4 separate regions of the Homo sapiens genome follow, and all the other regions are linked to region 4. Evidence: promoter capture Hi-C in 16 types of primary human blood cells and fetal thymus (Javierre and others, 2016). All regions are on one chromosome and are shown on one strand. The core of a region is centred on a gene start or on the middle of the fragment in contact, and the rest is flanking DNA. Distances in the headings are between cores, read along the strand shown. Region 1 overlaps RTKN2 (rhotekin 2). Region 2 overlaps ARID5B (AT-rich interaction domain 5B). Region 3 has its middle 200 kb from the start of REEP3. Region 4 holds the start of ADO (2-aminoethanethiol dioxygenase).

Region 1 (5,860 bases), core at 1,895-4,394, 540 kb after region 4:
CTCTGCGACTCCTCACAGCATAGAGTATTGGCTTTGGAGTCAGATTCAGGTCAAACCAAACTCTTCTTGTTGTGCAACCTTGAATAAGTTATCTCTGTTTTCTAAGTTTCAGTTTCCACCGTTGTAGCTTGGGTATTCCGCCTATCCCAGACAGCTGTTGGAATTGGAGAACCTCTCTAAAGTACTTATCACAGCACCTAGCACTCAGGATGTGCTTCAGAGATGACTATTGTTGTTATTATCCTTTGTCCTATTCATCTGAGTGGTTAGGGCAGTCCCCTACTTTTCTTACAAATGTTTAAGCTTTTGGCATCTTAATAAAAATAAAATTCAAAAAGTAATACTATCTCATTGCAGAAAAGTCAACATATACAGAAACATGAATTTAAGAATTCGGTCTCCAGTTCCATTCCCCAGAATGGCCGCTGTTAACAATTTCCAGACTTTTTTCTGTACATAAACAATTCTTAAAATCCACACAGTTTCTTTTAGCAAAATGAGAACGTACTGTATTTACTCTTTTCTTCTTCACCTTGGTCTTTGTTAACATGGCTTAACTATATCCATTAGGTGAATCATAGTTTCTGTCTTGATTACTGCGGTTGTCTTACCGGGAGTTCAACTTCAGGTTTTTTTAGTCAGTTTTTAATACCAACAATAAAGCCATTTTCTTTGCACTTCCTTCATGCTAGGCTAGCTCTTAAAACCTAGTAGGTTTCTGTTTCCTACTTAACCTAAATTTCTGTTTTTAAGGTATGCTCCTATTTCATTCATAGCCTTGTCCATATATTTTTATCAGCCTGACTTTAACTACTTATAGCGTCAGGACAGTGACACAGGCTTCTGTTTGACTTGATTAGAGGCAAGCCCTTACTCAGAAAATTGGAAAAGAAATAAGAGTATGATGGCCTTACCTCATTCTCTGCTGTTCCTGGAGACTGGCATTCAAACAATCCTAAAAGGAATGGTTACAGAGAGACCAGCTTTTGTCTTTGGTCCTAATCAGCCTTGACTCTACCTGGCCAAGCCATTATGGCTGAGGGAGCGACACTGATGATTTTCCATTCCCTACTCATCTTCTTTGAGGTTAATAAACATCACTATTGAATGCCCAATCGGTACCCTTATTACATGATCATTATTCTTGCTGGGGATAGCACTAGACATGAACCCTTACCCCTGATGCATTGTATACCCTTAGTAACTAAAGACAACTCTAAAGAGTTTTGGTTCCATAAACCCTTCCTTGCTAGAGCTAGCACTGCTTAACCAGAGAGGCTTTTTCTGCATGTAAAATGTAGATGTGTACTAAAAGAAGTTGCATGGGAAATACAAAACTGGCTAAAACAGTAGCCTTAAGAAAAAAAAAAAAACCAACAGCTCAGAATACATTGAAAACCATATGTACACTTAACAATTCATCCTGCTTATGTTAGCCTTCTGGGATCCACTTAACTGACATTTGCCTGAGACCTGCCTCAGCGAGGGAGGTAAGATTATAGTTTACTGTGTATGTTAATTTGGCTGGATTATGGGTCAGTAAACTATTTCTATAAAGGGGCAAACAGTAAGTATTTTCAGCTTTGCAGGCCACTCAGTCTCTGTTGAAGTTGCTCAACTCTGCCCTTGTAGCTTAAAGGAGCCATAGACAATATGAATGAGTGTGTCTGTGCTCCAGTGTAACTTTATTTACAAAACCAGGTCCCAGCCAGGCCATAGTTTTCTGACCCTTGCTCTAAAGGAAAAAATCTTAATAGTAGTATCTGTTAGATACACCTCATTTCCTTAATAAATAGTACTTTAATCTTACATCATCTTCAAACTTTTTACACGTACATTTTTTTTTTAATCCTGACTTTACATTTTCTTTCTCTACTATTTCCCAAGCTTCTATAGTTTTATGGAGTCTTCATTATAAGTGATGGTGAGAAGATACTCTTCATTTATGTGATAGAAACACAAACTGATTCCTTAATGTGGCTGTAGCCACCTGCTGGTTCTTTAAGGTTGTTGCAAGTTTCAAGATTGCTGTGGAATTTCAAATAGTCCAGCTGTGCTTCTCTACCCTAGCTGACCATTGAATCACCAGAGGAACTGTAAAAAAAAAAAAAAATGCTCAAGCCCCACCTCCAGAGAGCCTGATTGGTTTGGGGTAGGTCACAGGTTTAGGTACTTCTATAAGGCCCTTCCTCTCTGCCTCAGATGATTCTAATATGCAGCCAGCTTTGAGAACCACTGTGCTAGTTCAACTGCCTGTTTCATTGTATCATTTAAAACTAAAGTTGAATTTAGTGGCACCAGATGGTATTTGTTTATATTTGAGTTGTGGGGTAAAGCTATTCATCCCAGCTTTAGGTTGCTCCCTATGTGCACTCCCCAATATAGTCAGTCTGCCAGAGTTTATTTCTATAGACATATGGGTCACATAGATAATTCTTATAATTAATTGCTAATTACATTGAAGAAGAATTTACTTTGGGGCTAGTAAGTCATAAAAAGATGAAATGGAGTTGTTGAAATTCAGTCATGTGTAATGAAGGAAAACCAGCAAATGACTACATTTATATAGTACACCAGTTTTGAGTTACAACACTATATGAGAAGGTTTTTATGTGGTGATTACATGATGTAATTACAGAAGGTAATTAAACAGCTGTTTTCTGTGTGTAAATAGTACAGTTGATTGATTTGGATAGTCAAGTTAAATCATCTACTGTAGTTTGTCTTTTGGGGTAGTCTTCAAAAACTATTAGCTCTCCTAACTTTCATCTTTTCTTTTTGAAAAGGTTGTATAGACCTTTTGGTATTAGATTTCATTTACATTTTTAAATTTACATTTTGATCCATTCAGAAGGTAAATTATAGTCTTTATTTTTTTGCCATAGAAACTAGGATGGTCACTTTATGTTTTAGAAATAGACATACCAGAAACATTACATGTTTGTGATATAATAAAGAGTACCTTTGATTTATAATTTTTATAAAGTCATTGTGAATTAAATCAGAACTGTACATTCAGTTTGTAGAATTTTAATGTTGCGTGTGAAACTTATATGTAGAATCAGGCCATTAAAAGATAATTATATGGAATAAAAGACTTTCAGCAATAAAATACTTAGTAGTTTCATGGTGAACCCTAAAACTAAAATAAATGGTATGTCCAGAATTGTATTCTAAAGCTCTGTTCCAGATAGCTAAGGCTTCTGACATTTTCAGTGTACAGCGCTTTCACTCTCTTGCTTCTGAGATTGTATTTACACTGCCTACTGTTACAAATAGCCTGTTTCCTCCCTGCTACTAAACCTTGGCTCCTTTACTCAGTATCTGCTTTTTTCAGAATGTTTTTCTTGGTTAATTCACTGTCATCAACCACACTGCCATCTCTTAATACAATGTATATAATATATATGTGTGATATATTGTTCACATTAGTTATTGTATGTTTTCTAAGGCTGCTATAACAAATGACCAAGACTGAGTGGCTGAAAACAAGAGAAATTTATTCTCAAACTTATGGAGGCCAGACGTCTGAAATCAAGGAATTGGCAGGGTCATGCTCCTCTGCAGGCCCTAGGAAAGAATTCCTTTCTTGCCTTTTCCAGCTTCTGATTGTTGCCATCAATCCTTGGTATTTTTTTGGCTTATAGACATATTAGTCTCTGTCTTCACATGTCATTCTCTCTGTATGTGACTGTGTCTTCATGGGACCTTTCTTTAAGGACACTAGTCATTAGATTTAGGACCCACTCTAATCCAGTATGTTCTCATTTTACCTAATTACATCTGCAAAACCCTGTATCCAAATAAGGCTACATTCTGAGGTTCTGGATGGACATAAATTTTGGAGGGATGCTATTAAACTTCGTATAGTTATAAGAACACATAATGTTTCTCACCTTTGTTTATGTTCGTTTATTCCGTTTCTTTAGATTGTAAAGACTTCCTAATGAAGCAAGAAGTTTAGAATTGCAAAGAGCATTTTAAAATAGCTATTTTTACACTACATATATTAAAACTTTGTTGCTTTCTCAATATGGTATACAATTATGATACCTATTTTCGATCTATTATGGGTTAAGATGTAATTTTGGGTTTTTGCTATATTTTCAAGATGCATTTTTTTTTTAGGACTGCAACATTCAAGAAAAAATAGACTTAGAAATTCGAATGCGAGAAGGAATATGGAAACTCCTTTCTCTGAGCACTCAGAAAGATCAAGTTTTACATGCAGTTAAGAATCTCATGGTGTGCAATGCTCGACTAATGGCCTATACATCGGAGCTACAGAAATTAGAAGAACAGATTGCAAATCAGACTGGAAGATGGTTAGTAACATAGTTTACCTGTGGCTTTTAATGTACTTAAATATGTAAATTTAAAACACAGTATAATTTAAGCTTAAGTACCAATGTCAAATCACCAAACTGTTTTAAAAAACAAATACACTGAAGTAGCAGCTGACATCATAAACAGTTTGCCGACACAGCTCAGAGTGAACTTAGGCAGCAGCTTTTATTGGGCTGTTGTGTTCAATATGTAATTATAAAATGAAAATTATCCAGAAGCAATGACTGAGGGAGCATTTTAAGAAGAAAGTACCAATATTGATAGAAATGTAGAGTAAGAAAATTAATTGCTTAGAAATATGCTAATATAAAGGTACTAGCTGTGAGACATGGAAACTCAAGTATAGAAATTGAGATGAGTGAGCAGCAAAATTATAAAGAGATAAAACCTTATGAATGGAAAGGAACTTAAAAATCTGCTAGCCCATCTCTTGATATGGTGAACATAAGTCCCAGAGAGGCAAAAAACCTCAAGGACATTCATGCAACAAGTGATGGAAGCTAATGAGATTTAAGATTTGCTAAGTATTAATAACTTCTGCTCATGTGTTCTGTCATCTCATGCTGTTCTTTTAGATTAGATCTATGATTTGTATATGAAATTTATATCCTAACTTTTTACAATGCCAAATCTTACTTGAACCTAAGAATTGGTTCAATTTAGAGGCTGGATTTTGGTGTATTTTAAATAAAAACAGTCTTACATTCCCCTTTGTTGATTCACAGCTCTGACACAAGGGAAGAGTTTCTTGTTAGACAATAGTGACTGTTGGGCTCAGCATAGCATCATTAAATTCTTGAAAAGTAAGTTAAAAACACCAGTCAGAGTCTGAGATTTCTGTAAAAGTAAAATTTTGATGAGGATGTAATGTAATAGAGACCTGGATACAAAGTAGCCAACCTTATTAGCTATATTGCCATGGGATAGCTTTTATTTATTTATTTATTTTTTAAAGACAGAGTCTCGCTCTGTCACCCAGGCTGGAGTGCAGTGGTGTGATCTCAGCTCACTGCAACCTCTGCCTCCCGGGTTCAAGCGATTCTCCTGCCTCAGCCTCCCGAGTAACTGGGACTATAGGCGTGTGCCACCACACCCAGCTGATTTTTTTTTTGTATTTGTATTTTTAGTAGAGATGGGGTTTCACCATGTTAGCCAGGATGGTTTCAATCTCCTGACCTCGTGATTTGGCCACCTCGGCCTCCCAGAGCGCTGGGATTACAGGCATGAGCCACTGTGCCCTGCCGGGATAGCTATTTTAATCTCCTTGTGCCTCAGTTCCTTCCTTACAGTGGGCATGATAATATTTACATTTTGAAAATTGAGATTTTATATATACAAAAACCTAATGTAATGCCTTTTACATACTTAGTACTCAACAAATGTCAGTTTTCATTCTTATATGCCTCCAGCATTATACAATGAAATTGTTCCATTAGCATAATGTAGGAAAATGTTTTTCAGATAGGCATACATTGGTTTAAGTGAGTGCTTCTCAAAGTTGGTAACTTGTAGC
Region 2 (6,058 bases), core at 1,622-4,121, 760 kb after region 4:
TCCCAAAGTGCTGGGACCACAGGCGTGAGCCACGACGCACAGCCAGAATTCCACATATTCTATAAAGAGACATCAGGGCAGAGCGGACATCTTAGGACTTAGCTCACACCTAAGGGTGTGGCGGTGGTGCTATCTAGGAGCTGATACTGCACGCAAAGGGTCTGTTTTCTCAGCCCATGCCACCCACCAGCTAGCTGCAAGGTCCTGTCAAGTCACAAATTCAGTAAAACCAAAAGTGGACTCTCAAAATGCCATCAAGGCTCAAACTCCCACTTTCACATTTACCTGGCAACTCCTTTCTCCTATTCATCTCTCCAGATGCCAGGTGTCCACGAGCCATTTCCAGGCCCCAGGCTCCTCTCTCAATGGAGATCATGCACAGAAGCTATTACAATGAGAATAAGCATGTTGTTTCAATGCTATACTATGTGTTTTTTTCTTATGACTTTGAAATAGCTCCTGTTTTCATTTTTTGAAAACTCTTCTATAAATACAGATTTAGTCTTTCTTGGTATGGTTCTATATAATACAAATATAATATTAACAAGATAATTGTCTTTTTTTCTTAAGGCTGTTTAAGGATCTGCTCTGGAAATGTGTTTTAAGGACATTTTGATTTCCACAATTTCTGAAGGTTGTACAGATAGAACCTCTTAAACAAAGAGAGTTAATTTTTTGTCTCTCTCTTTTTTCTTTTTGTTACAATCAATAAATCTGCTCGTTCTAGTCTATGATTGATATGTTCTTTGGTGTTACTATTGAACATGACAGCACAGAAGTGAAAGCAACATTTTTGTACTGAATAGCCTTGTAAGAGCAGTAAATATCAGAACAGTTTTTAAACTCATTTATAAACAGGACATTCTTGTTCAGCCATTTCTCCAGGTTTGGAAATGAGATATTCCATTTCATCATTGAGGATAACTGATTTGCTACCTCTCTACAGAAAACATTCCCCACTTGGAAATAAGTAAAAGAGATGGATTGTTTTTGTTTTTGTTTTGGTGTGTATGTGGATTAACATGGAGATATTTAACTTATGACATACTTGGATGAGTATGTCATGGGATACATTTTAATATTTAAAAGACATACACATAAGAAACAGTTATCAAGTGATAGGCTCCCAATTCTTTTAAAAAGATCCAAAAAGGAATTTGTACAGAAAGGGGGCTTTTCACTCACTTTGTGCTTTTATACCTTTCAGAAAGAATAATGTGAATAGTAGGATAGTCTTTTACTTAAAAGTAAAAAGATGACTATTTTTGGTTGTCTGAGATTCGGAGACATTTTTCTTTGTTCAGGCAAATCCCTCTCACCCTTCCTCCCTATGAGGGCACCAGCACCATCCCCAACTAAGTACCTCAGTGGTCTCTGAGCTTCATTTGTTTGTGCAGGTACCGGAGCCAAGATACTGGAAAATGACTTTAAAAACTCTTCTGTGGTACCAAGAACCTCATGCAAACTCACAGATTGTATAGAAGAGCGTGTGTCTTGGAGCAGGGTGGGGTGAGGGTACAGAATGAGAAGAGCTTTGGGGCCTGGAGTGGGCGTGGAGAGGCAGCAACAAGGTTGATAATACCTGGTGACATGTTAACTAAGGGCAGATTATAAGCCGTGGGGCAAGCTAGAGTGATCACTCAATTGGAGGGAGGGTTTGTTACACTATAGAGAAACAGCACACAGATACCATCAGAAACCCTAATGTAAAGCTAACAATGAACCCAGAAGAGGTTACAGCTTCTTTACATTTTTCACTGTAAGATAAAACATTTCTATGACTATTTAGAATTGCTGTGTCTGATACAGTCACCGCTAGCCACGTGTCCCTTGAGTATCTGAAATACTATATGTCAAGTCCAAATTGAGATGTGCCGCAGTGTAAAATACACACTGGATCTCCAAGACTTAATACAAAATAAAAGTAAAATATCTCATTAATAACATTTTATATTGATTGCATATTGAAATGATAATATTTTGAATATACTGGGTTAAATAAAATATATTATTAAAATTAACTCCACATGTTTCTTTTTACCTTTTAAAATGTGGTTACTAGAATATTTTAAATTACATGTGGCTCACATTATCTTTCTCTTGGGCGATGCTGGTTTAGTCAATAATTCAATGTTATGATTATAGATATGTTCTTGGAAATATGTGTTAAGGAGCAGACAGAACAAGATTAACATCTGAAGCTAGAATAATCAGCAAAAGTCACGATTCAATGTTTCAATACATTTAAGATTTTATTCACTGTTATGGAGGGTAGTCATGTAAAAACGTTATATATAGTTATATATACACATTACACACATATATATATATATAATGTTATAATAGTATCTAAAAATTTTTCTTAAGCTGAGGTCTCCCTTCTGTAAAATTCAAATCTGGTAATCATTGACTCAAGGCTACTAAATGGCCCTGATGAAGATGTTATTTCATTAACTTTCTTAACTAAGATGTCAAAGTAAATGTTAAGCTTTGACAACAGACTGGAGAAGAGACAGAAAGAGAGAGAGAGTGAGAATGGAGAGAGAGAGGGGAAGGAACTAGCTAATTATTTATTTCATGACTTGTTCTCTCCTGCTGTCAATATGGGTCGGGTATAATGTAAGCCATTTTCATCATCCAGTACAAACTGAATAGGAGAAAATGGAGCTGGAGTGATTTTAGTTGCTTGGAAGTAGACACTTCTTAATCTCCAACTATTGAGTAAGTTAATGGTCTGACTTTTTGGACATTTCATCTGAGAATAAATAGAGAGGTCAGTTACAGTCAGGCCTAAATGCAGGGGCATAGCCTCATTGGCTTTGCCAACCTGCTTCAGGTCCCATTTATGACAAAATATGAGATTATTCATTGAAGACTGGCATTCCAATAAGCCCAGAAAAGTTGAACAGAACAAAAAGGTTTGAACTCTGGGGGCAGGGAGGAGAAACATTCTTTCCGCAATCATTCTTAGCACCAAAAAACCATCAGGCATCACTGAGAAGGCGGCTGCCCGGTGCTCAGTTTGCCCTGTGTCCCATCCTCCCAAACAACTTGTTATAGTAGCCAAAATCAAAGCTGATTCCCTCCACCTCCTCACTTTTTGATTCCTGTGGCAGCAGCAACACAGAAACCTAACTAGACATTAACAGCCCTCCAAACACTACATGCCAATCAAAAGGCTGCACACACATGGTAAAATGGGTTCCTATGGTAAAAATAAAAGAGCAACAATGGTGGCTATAGAAAGAAGCTTAGGAAATATTTTCTTTTCTTAGAAGGCAGTAGTTGCTGTAGCATTTAAGGCAGTAACATGCAGAAAGGCTTAGACCAAAATTTCTGCAACATCAATGAAACATGCAATCAATATCATACATTCTACTGTATCATACTTATATTGTACTAATTTTGATGAAATGATTGGGCGGTTTCAACCTATGTACCACGAAGCAATCTGCACACCTCTGGTATGTTTCTGATATCTAACTATAGAAGTATTTGTCTTTGTCCTCCAAACTCTTTTATAGCACATGGTATGCATATTTCAGCATCCAACATTATTAACTCATGAGCAACTGTCAGTTGATGGTTATCTAACACATGGGGTCTGCACAAAAGGGATCCTTATTTGGGCAAAAGCTCTTGTCTGCACCAGTCTGTCTATATTTTCCCTCAGAATAACTTTATTTGGATCATTATTCGCTGTTAGTGGAAACTCGGAGGCTGCATGTATGGCAATCGGAAGGTGGAGAAATAAATCCTTAACAAGTTCAAACACTTAGCTGATATTAAAACCATTTCTAGCTTTGTTAGCTGAAAGCAAACGCTCCATTGCCCTCTCGTGGTGAGTCGATGGGATGCGGTGGGACGACCAAAAAAACCCGCAGAAACTAACAAAAGAGTTTACTCCAATACAGGTGACAACATTCATCTTGGATAGAAACAGCCACAAATGACAACCTTATGTTGTTTTATATGTTTTAGAATTTACATTTTCAGCCCTCTTATGTGGAGATTGGACAAGGTGGGGTAGGTGGGGTTTGTAATATGGAAATTAGAACTTTGTCTTTCTGCAATACAATGACTTCACTATATTTACAACCATAGCTGCTATATATGTGGCAAATTGATTTTTATGAGATTTAGAAACTTAAAAAAATCATGCTCACATTTTAAAAGCTCCTTTAAACCAAAAATAGACTGATGTTCCAACTGGTTTGGAATTATAGGAACCAAGGAAAGAAGTCTGAATAATTCCCTAATATGGAAGAAAAACTGGCTTTTTTTCTTTTCTTTTTTTTTTTTTAAATAAGGAACAGTTTGTTTCTGACAATAGGCAACATGTGGGACTTATAGAACCAAGTATAGGTACAGAATTTATCTTTCTATATTGTCTAAAAATAAAATTTTAAAAAATTCTGAACTCCAAATTTAATAGTCAGTTACCCAATTGGGTATTTATCTTTTAAAAACACCATTTAAAATTTCTGCTGTATGCCTTTCAACAATTTCCTGCCTAACAGGCCCATCCCCAGAAAGCAAACAAACCTGGTATTAAAACAGACTGAAGAGCTTAAGAGAAAGCTGGGGGAGAAGTCAGGGCAAAGTACATGAGAACATAAACTACTTTTTTAAATCTTACTACCAGTAAATGTACCATTTTTCTCTTTTATGTGTCTTCTCTTCAGATAAAAGCCACTCCTCCAACCAGCATTACAGAAATGCTCTGTATTTTTATAATATGATTTTAGGGGCAGATTAATCTCAAATTGGCTTTTCCACTCAAATGTGGAAGTTCAGTTTTGCAACAACAGTTGTTTGATTTTGTCTTTGAATTAGCAAAGTTCTTAAAGTAATTTTACTATAAAATTAAACAGCTGGGAGTTCTTTAGCAAAACATGACAACTCTTGTTCTTCTTTGTACTATTGTGCAAGCTGAAATACCCTTTCTTTCATGTCTTTATATTCCAAAATGAATTCCCTAGTTACCCTTGTTTAGCTTTAAGAAAAATAATAAAGAAGGGGGGCGGTTTTTGCTGACCTCTGAAATTCACAGGCTTTTAAGCACAGGGCGTTTACACAAGGTGCGTTCTCAAAGGGCTTTTGTTTAATTCCTATTATGGAATGAAAAATGATATTTTGCCCCAATACAATGCCAATCTTTGTGTACGGCAAAGCTGTTGACAAGTATTTCTGTGGAGCAAGGCATCTTATGCCGATTTCGCAGATGGGAAAACTGAAACATCTCTAAATGGTGAGGAAATATGGGACTAAGATGTTCATAGAGGCTGGAATTAAATTTAGAATTTGACTCTTAGCCCAGGACTCTAACCATGTGAGGGCCCTAACTCTCTGGAATCAACAGAAGGGCAATTTTAAAACATTCTTTTGACGTTATTAACCACAGCCTCGGGGCTCAGGGAAATGAGTGGGGGAGGGCCTGGAAACATAATACAGAGCTGCTAGGTGACAGCCTCTTGCAACATTGCTAATACTTTGGATTACTTGATCCATATTGCCGTATATTCTACTAATATTCTGGGGCTTAATGATTTCCTTTGTATCTTAAAAAATTAGAGTCTAGATTCAAGGGCTAGTGTAGACTGCTTCTTAAAATATGGAGCCGGAGAGTCATGACAAGACAAATTGTGGAAAGCGGTTCTTGGCTTTTCACATGAATCTGGAACCAAAGATCACTGCTAAGAGTTGGTGAAACCATAGATGTTATGCCAGTAGGATTCGTCATTGGAGTCATTTATAAAATGATGGAATTCCATAGCTTTAGGAAAACCTCGGGCACCAGCTAGTCATTCTCCACATCAGAAAAGACAGGACCAGAGAGCCTGCCACTCGCCCAGAGTCACCCAGTGAGTAGCAGAGCTGCGACAGACTCTGGTTTCTGTTGCATGAGATCAGCAGCAGAGCCTTGGCAGCAGATGGTTTTTCAATGGGCCCTGAATACCTCCATTTGGGTCTCTGCAGGGTGAGCCCTGTCATCCCAAGACCATGTTACTGAAACACACTTTCCAAGGAACTGTAATTAATAAAGTCAAATGGGAGC
Region 3 (5,337 bases), core at 2,094-4,593, 910 kb before region 4:
CATGATCTACCTTATGAATGAGTCACAAATGAATTCATACACATAAAGTACTAGAAACAATACTTTTTCTTTAGAGATTCTATTTAAATATTAACCATTATTATCACTTCACATAAGTTCCCTGAGTCTGAGATAGAGCATGCTATGGAAATATACAGTAAAAACTGAAGCATGAAATCTAGGTCAATTTCCCAATGTCACACAATCAGCAGAATCAAAGTCCACAGATAAAAACAGACGAACACTACCACTTGGAATTGCCCTTTGCTATTGACATAGAGGGTCTGCTTCCAAAAACGACGAGTAAACTAGGAGTAGAACACAAACCTTCCAAATCACAAGCCAGTGACCTGTCCACTGCACCATGACAAACCAGGCTGATTTATTGACTGAAGAAACTCCTAAAAGACAAGTATTTGACAATATTGGCTGCTAGTTAAATGGCAGGTGAAATTCTAAAGTATTAACAGACACTTCTGTCCATTTACTGCATTCTGTTTATCACTTCATGAGGTTCTGCCTTAATTGCCTCAGAGAAGGGAGGATACAACATAATCCAGAAAACAGAATCTTCCTAAAGCTTAGGCCCCAGAAATGAGATAAAAGGTGTAGAAGGAAACCTGCCCTGTTAGGACAGAGCTTCCTCTGCTCCCAAGACTCAGAAGATTTATCTGATAGAGCAGAATGGAGAGATTTGAAAGAAAAGTGAAGACACCAGTGGGCTTCTGAAAAGGGACCCTGGGTCTAACCTACTTTTATCTTAAGCTGAGCCCTATATTTGGGGTCACAGGGAGGAATAATAAAATGTCCAAACACGTTTGGGGATTCTAGAGCTGAGTATCCTGCTCCCCTTTGGGTGGAATCTGGGAGCTATAGGACTCTCTAGTTCCCCACATCTGGCTTGTGCAGAAGTGGAAGGAAAATCTGTATGACATGTCTAGGCAGATGGTCCGCTAAGAGCTTCACAAAGTTCCAAAGCCACAGAGTGGTGTGGTGGCAGAGAATGGTGCCAGAAATGCAAGATGAGCATAGACCAGAGTTTCTCACAGTGCAGCTGGCGAAGAAGCATTCGAATATCGCCAACATGCAGAACGCGGCACAAGCAAAGCTCTCAGAAGCCACAGACCAGAAGAGGCTGGACCATCAGAAACAAAGGAGGGTACGGCAGGGACCCCCCCTAGAAAATGGGAGTATCCTTTAGGATATCAGTTTAGCTGTTTTCAAAGAGACCAACATAACTGAGCCTTAAACAAGATAGAATGCTCATTTCTATCCACATACAAGTTCAAGGTAATACTGGTCAGGGGGCTAGAGCTGCTCTGCACCACCAGATCACCCAGGAGCCCAGGTTCCTTTCATCTTGTTACTTTGCCACCCCACAGAATGCTATCCTTGTGCCCTCACGGAAACAAAGCCAACTCATCATCACCACATCCTCATTCCAGCCTGGGAGAAAGAGAAAAAGGGATGTGCAAAGCTGAGGGTTCAGAGATGCCATTTAAGGGCCTGAGCCAGGAGGAGGTACGCCGTTCCCACTTGCTGCCGACCTGCCAGCCTTAGACACATGTCCACACCTCACTTCAGAGAGGCTGGGAAGTGGGCAGCCTGTGCCTAGGTAAAAATAAGGTAGTTCTTTGACCAAAGAAAGAGTACATGGATATCTGCAGATAAGTGGTGATCTCTGCTATGCTCAGTGTCACATGAAGGCCAAGGTGGATATATACAGGGTACATACAGGGTAAGACTGTATTTTTTCCAATGCCTTAATGCTACATACACCACTCGAATCTTAGATACAACTCTGGGCATTGGGGGCAGGGGGTGCCTGAAATTTAGCTGGCCAGTGTTTATCATATGATTTAAAACAAAAGCTCTGGCCAGATATGGTGGCTCATGCCTGTAACCCCAGCACTTTGGGAGGCTGAGGCGGGCAGATTGCTTGAGCTCAGGAGTTTGAGATCAGCCTGAACAATATGGTGAAACTCCATTTCTACTACAAATAGGAAAGAAATTAGCTGGGCATGATGGCATGTGCCCGTAGTCCCAGCTACTTGGGGGCGGGGGGGGGGCGGCGCCGAGGCAGGAGGATAGCATGAACCCAGGATGCCAAGGCTGCAGTGAGCTGTGACTGCACAACTGCACGACTGCACTCCCGCCTGGGTGACAAAGTGAGACTCTGTCTGAATAAAAAGCTCTGTCCAAATGAGACTATGTTAATAAATAAACAAGGCAATCAAATTGTCTCTCTTGAGCATCTGAACCAGAAATAGATTGAAGAATATGGTATGATAGAGCCGTAAGAGAAGGAGATGCAAAGAAGTCATGGAATCAGGCCGTGAGTCAGCAGCAAAGGTTGCAAGTTGCCTTGAGTTAAATAAATTCATGATGTGAGATAGAAATCATCACCAGGGCTGTGCCTGCAAACTCACAAAATAATTGATGCTCTCCTACATTTTCTATCCTCCCTTGCAGTGAGGTTAGAGCCATATATCTAGCTCTGGCCGGTGAAAGGTAAGCAGAAGCATCAAATGTCGCTTCCAAGTCAAGGTCACTGAGAGCCAGGGACCTCCTCCAGCTCTCCTGTCTCTTGTGCAGTGACTTTGGAAACCAAGTGTTAATATGGCAGCATTAGACACAGATGGAGAGGCATGGGGTCTCTGGGTAGAGGGGAATCCCTGCTGACTACATCATTTTATGTGAGCAAGAAATCAATTTTTGTTGTATAAAGCCCCTGAGATTTCAGAGTTGATCTATTGCGGCAGCTAATGGTTAATTATCCTGACTGATACAATAACCAAAATGTTTTAGTACTTCCCATACTGTAATTATTCTAGTGATCATAATTGCACAGTTGCAACTTGTTGAGAAACATAAGTCTGAAACAGTTGTTTACAGCTGGTGTTTGTCTAGACCATGGCAGTGTCCATTCTGATTGTGCCTATGCCATCTGACTTGGTAAAGATTTCTTCACACTTTGCCTTGCTCATAGGAAAACTATATACATGCGCCCTTCAACGTATTCTAAAGTGAAAGCTTAAAAGCATAAAATGTGTTTTAAAATTATAAGTTAGTTTTAGAAAGGAAAGATTTCTTTCCCTCACCTATTGCTAGCTTCATGGCTGAGGTACCTACAAAAGACAGATTAACAAGAGAAAAGCACATGAATGTATTTAATATAAGTTTTATATGCCACAGGAGGCTTCAGAAAGAAAGACTCAAAGAAAAGGGAAACCTGTGTATTTTTATGCTAAGTTTGATGAGGAAGTGGATAGCCATGAAGTACGACGATTGGGCAAAGGGGGTATGACCTATTGAGAATAAACTGGGAGAACTTAGCAAGAACTGTTTGTTTAGATTCTTTGTGTTTCTGTGTCTTCAGAGGTAAGGATACTCCTTTCCTCGGGGTATAGGGTGGACACTTCTCACATGACAATACTATGATCTGCTTCAGAGGAAAGTCAGAGAATTCTTTTATGACCTGCTTCAAAGGAGAAGAAAGGGAGAAGGTCAGAGTCCTTCCTGCTTTTGTTTTCTCAAATGCCAAGATGCTCTATGTTGAGGCAGCATGTTCTAAACTCCATCATCAGAAACTATACATTAATCGATCAAATCTATGAGACTATATACATGAGGCAAAAAGATAAAAAGCTTAAATACAAGGGAAGAAAATGAGACAAACTCTAGAAAAAAGGATAAAGAAATGAAATATTTATGTCTTAAGTTGCTAAGATCATGAAAAAAATTGAAAACAGAATTGTTATCTATCCATGTAAAAGCAAAAGCTTTATATTTAAGTACTATTTCCATTATTTTACTCTGAAATTATGGCATTTCAATATGGGATTCACTTTATCTTGTTTCCTAAATTATCACCTGTGCCTATTACTTGCACATCACTTAAATAAATTAAAAACTGCAGTATATATCATACACATTCCCGAAATTAAAATTTGTATTTCTTATACAGTTAAAAAAACAAAAGTAATCTAGCTACTACTATGTATTTGTTGTTGTTGTTGTTGTTGTTTTTGAGACAGAGTCTCGCTCTATCGCCCAGGCTGGAGTGCAGTGGCCGGATCTCGGCTCACTGCAAGCTCTGCCTCTCGGGTTCAAGCCATTCTCCTGCCTCAGCCTCCCAAGTAGCTGGGACTACAAGCTCCTGCCACCACGCCCGGCCAATTTTTTGTATTTTTAGAAGAGACAGGGTTTCACCATGTTAGCCAGGATGGTCTCGATCTCCTGACCTTGTGATCTGCCCACCTCGGCCTCCCAAAGTGCTGGAATTACAGGTGTGAGCCACCACGCTCAGCTACCATGTATGTTTTAAAAGACTAAATTCAACTTTCATTTGATTCTCTCTCTCTCTGTTCCTCTTTCTGTCTTTCTGCAGATAAGGTTTAATACTTTAGTATAAAGAAAATAGAACTTCTGTCATGTTGCTTTTGTACTTTGCATACTTTTTTTGCAATTATTATAGTATTGTAGAAGATATACATTATATCCTTGTGAATTCAAATGGCAGAAATATTGACTAAAATGTATATTACTCATATCAATTTTCCATATTCAATTTTATACTAAAATGATACTTTCATTTAATATGTTAATCATAACATAAAAGGCTGCACTTACCACAGAATATAGAAATATGAAGTTTAAATATATATTATATTATAGCCTGCTTTTCCCACAAGGCTAATAGCATGAAATCAATTTTTAATATGGAGGTAGAAATTATAAATTATTTTTAATGAACAAAAGAACAGAATCATTAACTCCCCAGCCATGACTTGATTTGGAAGTTGATTAGGGATCAAGTTATCTTCCTGAAACCTACCCTCCAGTGTAAAATTTCTATATTGAAAAATATGATGAACAACCTATTAAGGTTCTGCTTTTTATGTCTCTAGTACTTTGCTGCAGCTTACAACACACTTTTAAACACATAGGTTTTCTCAACAGTTCTGAGACAGAGAAGACCTTATCTTCTTAAGGTCCACGAAGACCTGGCAAACTAATCTTCAAGATGAATTCAGCCCACAGATCTATTTATCTATTTTGTGAAGCACACAGAGTTTTTCTTAATTCATTGCCAATATTTAAAAGTTTAGCACTTTCACACTATAAAAAAGAACTGGGCCAGGCACGGTGGCTCATGCCTGTAATCCCAGCACTCTGGGAAGCTGAGGTGGGTGGATCACTTGAGGTCGGGATTTCGAGACCAGCCTGGCTAACATGGTGAAACCCCATCTCTACTAAAAATGCAAAAAAGTAGCCAGGCATGGTGGCGCATGCCTATAATACCAGTTACTTGGGAGACTGAGGCAGGAGAATAGC
Region 4 (6,200 bases), core at 2,230-4,729:
CTTCACCACTAATTTACTCAGAATTTATTAGTGAACCAAAAGTTTCACTGTTCTTATTGAACTAAATCTGAGATATCATATTGCTGTTTTGGCCTGCAACAATTTCAGTTACTCTTTTGAAAAGCACCTTAGGTTTTTTCTTCCAAATTGCTCGTAATTGAAAACTTTAAAACTTCTTTTTTTCATAATGAAGTCATAATTCTTCCTTTATTACTATCCTACAGCCAGGATGAGTTTTCGTAGCTTTAATGTACTAAGTTGTATTATAACACATACATTGCTATTAATAATCTTGGTAAGCTAATCAACTTTTTGCTACAATATAATCCAAAAAAGTATGTGATTGATAACCACATTCATTACTGTGCTATGGAAAAAAAAACAAGATCTTTTATTTTGTGAAGTTTTCTAAGAAAATCATTTGCATATCTAGAATTTTATTTTCAAACTAAGTGGCATGAAGAACTGCTTCAAACTGCCCCCAAAGGCATTTTAAACTACACCAGAATGTGGAGCTACAATAAAACAATTTTAGCAACAATGCAGGAAATACTTGGTACTATGCCTGTGTCAGGTTTTATAATAAAGTGGCATGTCCTGTGGAATATCTTTTTGTGTTTTGTTTTGGTTTTATTTTTAAATCACTCACCAAGTATTTGCTTTTTTATACTATCTTAAAAACTGGGAACAAATACTCCCTCACCCTGGGTCTCTGTGTGCATAAAGAGGCAAAGGCACGTACTGTTTCTCTACATACGGGGTCAACATTCCACTAATAATAGCAAATCTCCCTTTATTATAGATATTAGAACTCTATTGCCACTTGGGCAAGTCAATCAAGAGGGCTTAGACGACAGCTGGGCAAATTTTAATGTGTTTATTTCTACAATTTCTTTTTATTAAAAGTCTTGTGAAAAAACGGAATCCTATAAATAGTAAAAAGGGAGAAACAGTGCTCCATGGCCTGAAGCAAATGGTGTCAATACATGTGTAAACAAGGTAAGACTGCTCGGACTATTAAAAGCACAAAAATAAAACTAGTCACAGATAGCAAGACTTCATTTCAGGAGTTGGGAGTGGGAAGTAGGAAGTGTTTAATCCCAAGTTTTGGTGCCCTAAAATGGCTAGTAGTATAGTTAATTCTCAATTCTCTAGCTGTGATCTTCTGTGCCTTCTATCTCTTCCTAAGGAAAACCACATTAGATGAACCCAGGGCTCAGTCATTTTAGGGAGAGGGTTGAGACAACACTGCCAGCAACACAGCTGGAATCACCCGAGTCGGGAACATTAAAGTTCCTGAGAGAATATGAAACAACTATCAACATAATATTTCTCCCTACTTTTACAGTAAAATATTGGAAGTAAATAAATATAGGGAATGCAACAACTGGCTAGGAGTGTTTTACATTCAGTTGTTTGGAAGCATAACACATTCAGCTCCTTTGAATCTTCCCGTTAGAAAATACAGAATTACTCTATCACCTTTTAAGGTACAGTAAGACAAGAAAAAAAGTCATGTGAGGATAATACAGTCTTTGCATTAAAGGTGAATCTGCAACATGAAATCTGCTCGACTCACAGATCTGGAGATTCATAGGGAAGATAAGCTCTAAGTGACCATGTCACAGAGATATGCAGGTGCTGAATTTCTTAGTAGATGCTGCCTGAGTAAACCAGATGTGGCTACTGGGCAAAGGGAGGAAAGAAAATAAATCTTGTCCTCTACATGCATAGTTATGTTGTGAGAATGATCCCCAAACTGAAAAAATCATTTAGTTTTCACAAGGAATTAATTAGGCAGGCCAGCTCACTTTAAACAGTAGCTCATCTCCTTAAACCTAGTTTTTACCAATGACTTGAACTAAAAACAATTCAAACCACTGGGTCATGCACAGTCAATAAGTTAAAAAACTATAAGAAAAAAAGGCATAAGGGCATGAGTGGAAAATAAACCCTATTTAACTAAGGGGTAGGGAGTGGGAGCAAGAAAACCACTTAGTATTTTGTATAGAATGGGGAAGAGAGGAAGATATTTTCATTATGGCTTTAGGATGGAAGCGCTTCAGATAGTCCCCTGCCCCATTCCTCCAAATCAAAGCCCCAGTGGCAGTGACAGTACCAGGAAACAATCTAGCCTCCCCGCCCACCCCGCCCCCATAACCGTGCCCGGCGGCTGCTGTCCAGTCGCCCGTGCTTCCCAAGGCTGCCGAGGAAGCGGCTGCTGCTCATTCCAGTAGATCCAACGCCCAGGCTAGGGGGTAGAGACACAGCCCTTGTGGTAGGGTAGGGCACGTCTTCGGCCCACCGCTCCTGGGCGCCAGTGGCTTCAAGGGAAGACCTTGGGACCTGGATAGGGTTCTCCCTCGCACCAGAAGTCATCGGCCTGTGGGGTCTCCAGGAGCCACACCTCTCGAGGCAGGTCACAGGCCGAGCTGGAGGCCTCCTTGGGCCTGACCGGCTCCAGCACCCGGTAATAGTGGCAGTCCCGGCCATCGTCCGGGTCGTAGGGCGGGGCCAGGATGTCCAGGAAGGCGGCAGGCCCTTCCACGGCGTCGATCTGGTGCAGGTTGTCCCGGTGCGGTGTGAGGATGCAGGGGCCGCTGGCCTCGGTGTACTCGGCCCGCGAACGCAGCACGCCCGGCCGCACGGCTTCTCGCTCCCGGGGCTGCAGCGGCGGCTCGAACTGCTGCTCGGGCGGCAAGGCCCGCGGCCGTTGCCCGCCGCCCGCGTCTAGCTTGTCCATGCAGCTGATGCGCACGGTGCCGTACAGCACCTTGAGCATGCCGTGCATGCCCGGGTGGTCGTGCAGCGGGATGGACGTGCCGCTCTTGAGCAGGAACACGCCCAGGCTGAAGCCGTCCGTCTCGTAGATGTGCATGTAGGTGACTGGCGGCAGGTTGGGCGGCAGCGGCTGCAGTGTGGCCTTGCGCGGGGCGATGTTCAAGTCCTCGGCGCGGAGCTGGGTCAGGAGGCTCTTCAGCTTGCTCAGGTTCTCGGGGAAGCCCGGCTGCATCGGCGCCTCCGGGCCAGAAGCCGCGTCGCGATCGGAAGCGCCGCGGCCGCCCCCGCTGCCCCGGAAGGTGAGGCAAGCCTGGCGGGCGATCCGTTGGATCAAGGAGGCCATGTTGTCTCGGGGCATGGTCGGCTGCTCCTCTGCGTGCCGGGACCGGCCCCCTCCTTTCCTCCGCCCCTTGCGGTCCCCGGCGGCCGCCACGGCTGCCCCCAGCCCGGGTCGAGGCGGGAGGCCCCGCAACCACCGGCCCGTCGGGCGCGCGGCACCGCCGCCAACCTCAGCAGCCACGCGCCCGCAACTGCCCGGCGCGCTCGCCTTGAGCCCCCTCTGAGCGCGCACGCGCACGCCCCACACCCCGCACTCACGCTCCGGGAGCAGATAGCGGCCGCGCAGACGGTGCCAGGCTTTGCCTTACGCCCGGCGCTCCATTCATGCGGCCCGCACCTACGACGGTGGCCGGGCGCCCGGGGACCCTGCGGAGCATGCCGGGACTTGTAGTCCGGCCTTCCGCTTGAGCTCTGAGATAGTTCAGTTTGTTGATTGGAAAATAGAGGAACTATTACACATGTTGGGCATAAAGCGATCTTTTTCAGGATGCAGAGGTGTTTTTCTTGTTTTAGAAAAGATGAATCGGGGTGGAAGATTAGTAGCCACTTGACTACAACTCCCGGCACTCCCCGCAGGGTGGAGTGACGCACTTCCGTCAGCTGGCCCCCGGAGTAGTGGAGGCTCTTGGCCTTCATAAGGAAAGGGGCAGGGAGGGTCGTTAACCTTCTGGCGCCGCGCTGGGGCCTGGTTAGCCATGCAGGGTCGCCTTCCTTTGGCCTTGCCCCTGGGAAGGAGGCTGTTGAGTCAGCCTTAGCTCCTCGTAGCGGCCTAGGCAGCACTGTCTCCCACGGGAATTGCAGGAGGGCGCTTTTATAATTTTGTGTTTCCTAGGAGGGGAGGGGGTCCAGGCCGTCCTCTGTGATCATCAAGGTTACTCGGCCCAGCTGGGCCCAGCTGGGCCCAGCTGTTGTTTGCATCAGGACCTGATGACGCTGCTCTTCTGGTTACAGAGCAGTATAGCTTTTTGCTGGAGAGACTTGAGAGGCCATTTACAGTGGTCGTGGATTCTGAACATACTAGTGGTTATCAAATCTTGGTTTGCCTGAGAAGGGGGAGCGGGCTTTTATAAATGCAGATTCCCTGTCGTCACCCAGAGATGGAGTTACTAGATGGTTCTGAGGCATCCTAGGAGAAATAGTGGTGTGCAACAGTCAGTTCAGTCAGTAATTGTGAAATTGTTTCACTACACAGAGGCATCCTTCTCCTTGGCGTGAACTAACTTTTGGCATAAGTAAATGACTAGAAAAGCAAGACATTAGATACTATGACTTTAAACTTAACCCTGAGTTTAAAGTCTTTTTGGATTCCAAAGCTGAACATGGGTTTCTTGTACATTTTGTAATTGGAGTGGTTCAGTGAATCCTCTCCAGTTAAAATAGGCATACTTTTTAAAGTGGATTACATAACCTGGCTAATGAGTACTCACAATATGCCAGGCACTGTGTTAAGTGCATTATATAATGAATGTTATACTATTTAATCCTTGCAGCAACTCTTAAGAGGCAGGCACTATTATTATTCCCAGATTGCAGATGAGGGAATAAGTTGTAGGATAGTGAATACTAAGTACCCAGCAAAGCATGAGCAGCAGAGCAGAAATAAGTACAGTCTTACCAAAAACAGCAGCTTGAATTGGTGTAAAAGCACCAAACGAGAGTCAGGATATTGTTGTTCCAGCCTACTGTGTGTACTTACAAGCTGTGTGTCGTTAGGCAAATCCTACCCTTTTAGGGCCTCAATTTATTCATTTGTAGAATGCCGGTGTTAAGGGAACAAAAGTTCTGAACCCTACTCATCAGAACCCCCTGGAGAGCTTAAAAAATAAAGATCTTGGGGTCACACCTCAGAGATTTTGATTCAGAAGAACTGGAGTGAAGCCTATTTTTTTGTGTGTGGTTTTTTTTTGTTTGTTTGTTTGTTTGTTTTGAGGGGTAACAAGGTTTATCGTGAAGAGCGAAATAACAAAGCTTCCACAGCTTGGAAGGGGACCACAGCGGGTTGCCCCTATGATTTATATTTAAGATGCTTCCTCAAGCAATTATTATTATTATTTTTTTTTTTGAGACGGAGTCTGGGTCTGTTGCCCAGGCGGGAGTGCACTGGTGCGATCTCGGCTCACTGCAAGCTCCGCCTCCCGGGTTCACGCCATTCTCCTGCCTCAGCCTCCGGAGTAGCTGGGACTACAGATGCCCGCCATCACACCCGCCTAATTTTTTTTTCTGTATATTTAGTAGAGACGGGGTTTCACCATGTTAGCCAGAATGGTCTCGATCTCCTGAGCTCGTGATCCGCCCCCCTCGGCCTCCCAAAGTGCTGGGATTACAGGCGTGAGCCACGGCGCTCGTCCAAGCGATTCTTGATCATTAGCTCAGTTTGAGAACCACTGGTAGAGCTGTAAATAGTGAACCAGCTTTCATTAGTTAAGAGGGTGGTTATTTGCTTTAGGAAAGGATTGTTAAGACTGATTCATTTTTAGAGGTTGCCATGCCATTGTTACGTTATTTAAATGTACTTTCAAAGCTGATAAATAAATTTCATACAGTCTTTTTTCTAAAGTGAGAAGTATTTGAGAGTAAAATTCTTCCCCTTCCTTTATTTACAAATATGGACTTTTATTTATTGGTTTTACTTCTATTAGGGTATAATTAGTGGTAAGTATAGACTCCATGGAACACAGACTATATTAACATGCAGATCTCTTGCACTTAATGGTTGTCCACACTTACTTAACTGAAGCTCAAAATTTTCATCTATAAAATGGGATAATATACCTGTGTAAATCACTGATGACACTATGTAGAACATAGTAGCTGCCCCATGACAGTAGCTATTATAGGTTTAAAATGGCTATAAGTTGTACTTAAAGACCAATGAATTTAAATAATACTAAGCAAGTATTGAAATGGAATTTGACTTGTTTTGAGAATCAGCTTCAGGGTAGAGATAAAAAAGATTATTGCTTAAACCATTTACCTGGTAATTTGCTAGTCATCCTTTGGCCTGAGTTCAAAGTTTCCGAAGACTGCCTGTATCAGAATCACTTGGGAGTGTCTGTCAAAAGTGCAGATTCCCAGATCAC

Evidence for each region. Contacts are between HindIII fragments. The CHiCAGO score rates a contact against its expected background, and 5 or more counts as called.
Region 1: a contact is called between a fragment that was not itself captured here and the fragment with the promoter of ADO in region 4, in 1 of 17 cell types (M1 macrophages). The highest score is 5.1, in M1 macrophages.
Region 2: a contact is called between a fragment that was not itself captured here and the fragment with the promoter of ADO in region 4, in 2 of 17 cell types (neutrophils and fetal thymus). The highest score is 6.0, in neutrophils.
Region 3: a fragment that was not itself captured here is called in contact with the fragment with the promoter of ADO in region 4 in 1 of 17 cell types (erythroblasts); the score reaches 5.1 in erythroblasts.

The regions. Positions count from the first base shown.
Region 1 is chr10:62,261,090-62,266,949 of GRCh38, reverse strand. It overlaps RTKN2 (rhotekin 2), which reads left to right. Exons shown (of 12, transcript NM_145307.4): 2 at 4,129-4,325. All of the region lies in intron 1 of LINC02621 (long intergenic non-protein coding RNA 2621), which reads right to left. Among named protein-coding and RNA genes, the nearest start is that of RTKN2, 4.8 kb to the left of the region's middle. RefSeq lists an enhancer at 1,825-2,326. The HindIII fragment of the contact is 2,510 bases long and covers 1,890-4,399 here.
Region 2 is chr10:62,036,616-62,042,673 of GRCh38, reverse strand. The region is part of intron 4 of ARID5B (AT-rich interaction domain 5B); the gene reads right to left. Among named protein-coding and RNA genes, the nearest start is that of ARID5B, 140 kb to the right of the region's middle. RefSeq lists an enhancer at 1,436-1,495. The HindIII fragment of the contact is 762 bases long and covers 2,491-3,252 here.
Region 3 is chr10:63,714,311-63,719,647 of GRCh38, reverse strand. No RefSeq gene overlaps it. Among named protein-coding and RNA genes, the nearest start is that of REEP3, 200 kb to the right of the region's middle. The HindIII fragment of the contact is 615 bases long and covers 3,036-3,650 here.
Region 4 is chr10:62,801,999-62,808,198 of GRCh38, reverse strand. ADO (2-aminoethanethiol dioxygenase) reads right to left here and starts at 3,479. Exons shown (of 1, transcript NM_032804.6): 1 at 1-3,479. The coding sequence starts at 3,139. The coding sequence ends at 2,327. RefSeq lists enhancers at 2,875-2,994, 3,465-3,724 and a silencer at 3,175-3,424. The HindIII fragment of the contact is 5,397 bases long and covers 1-5,090 here.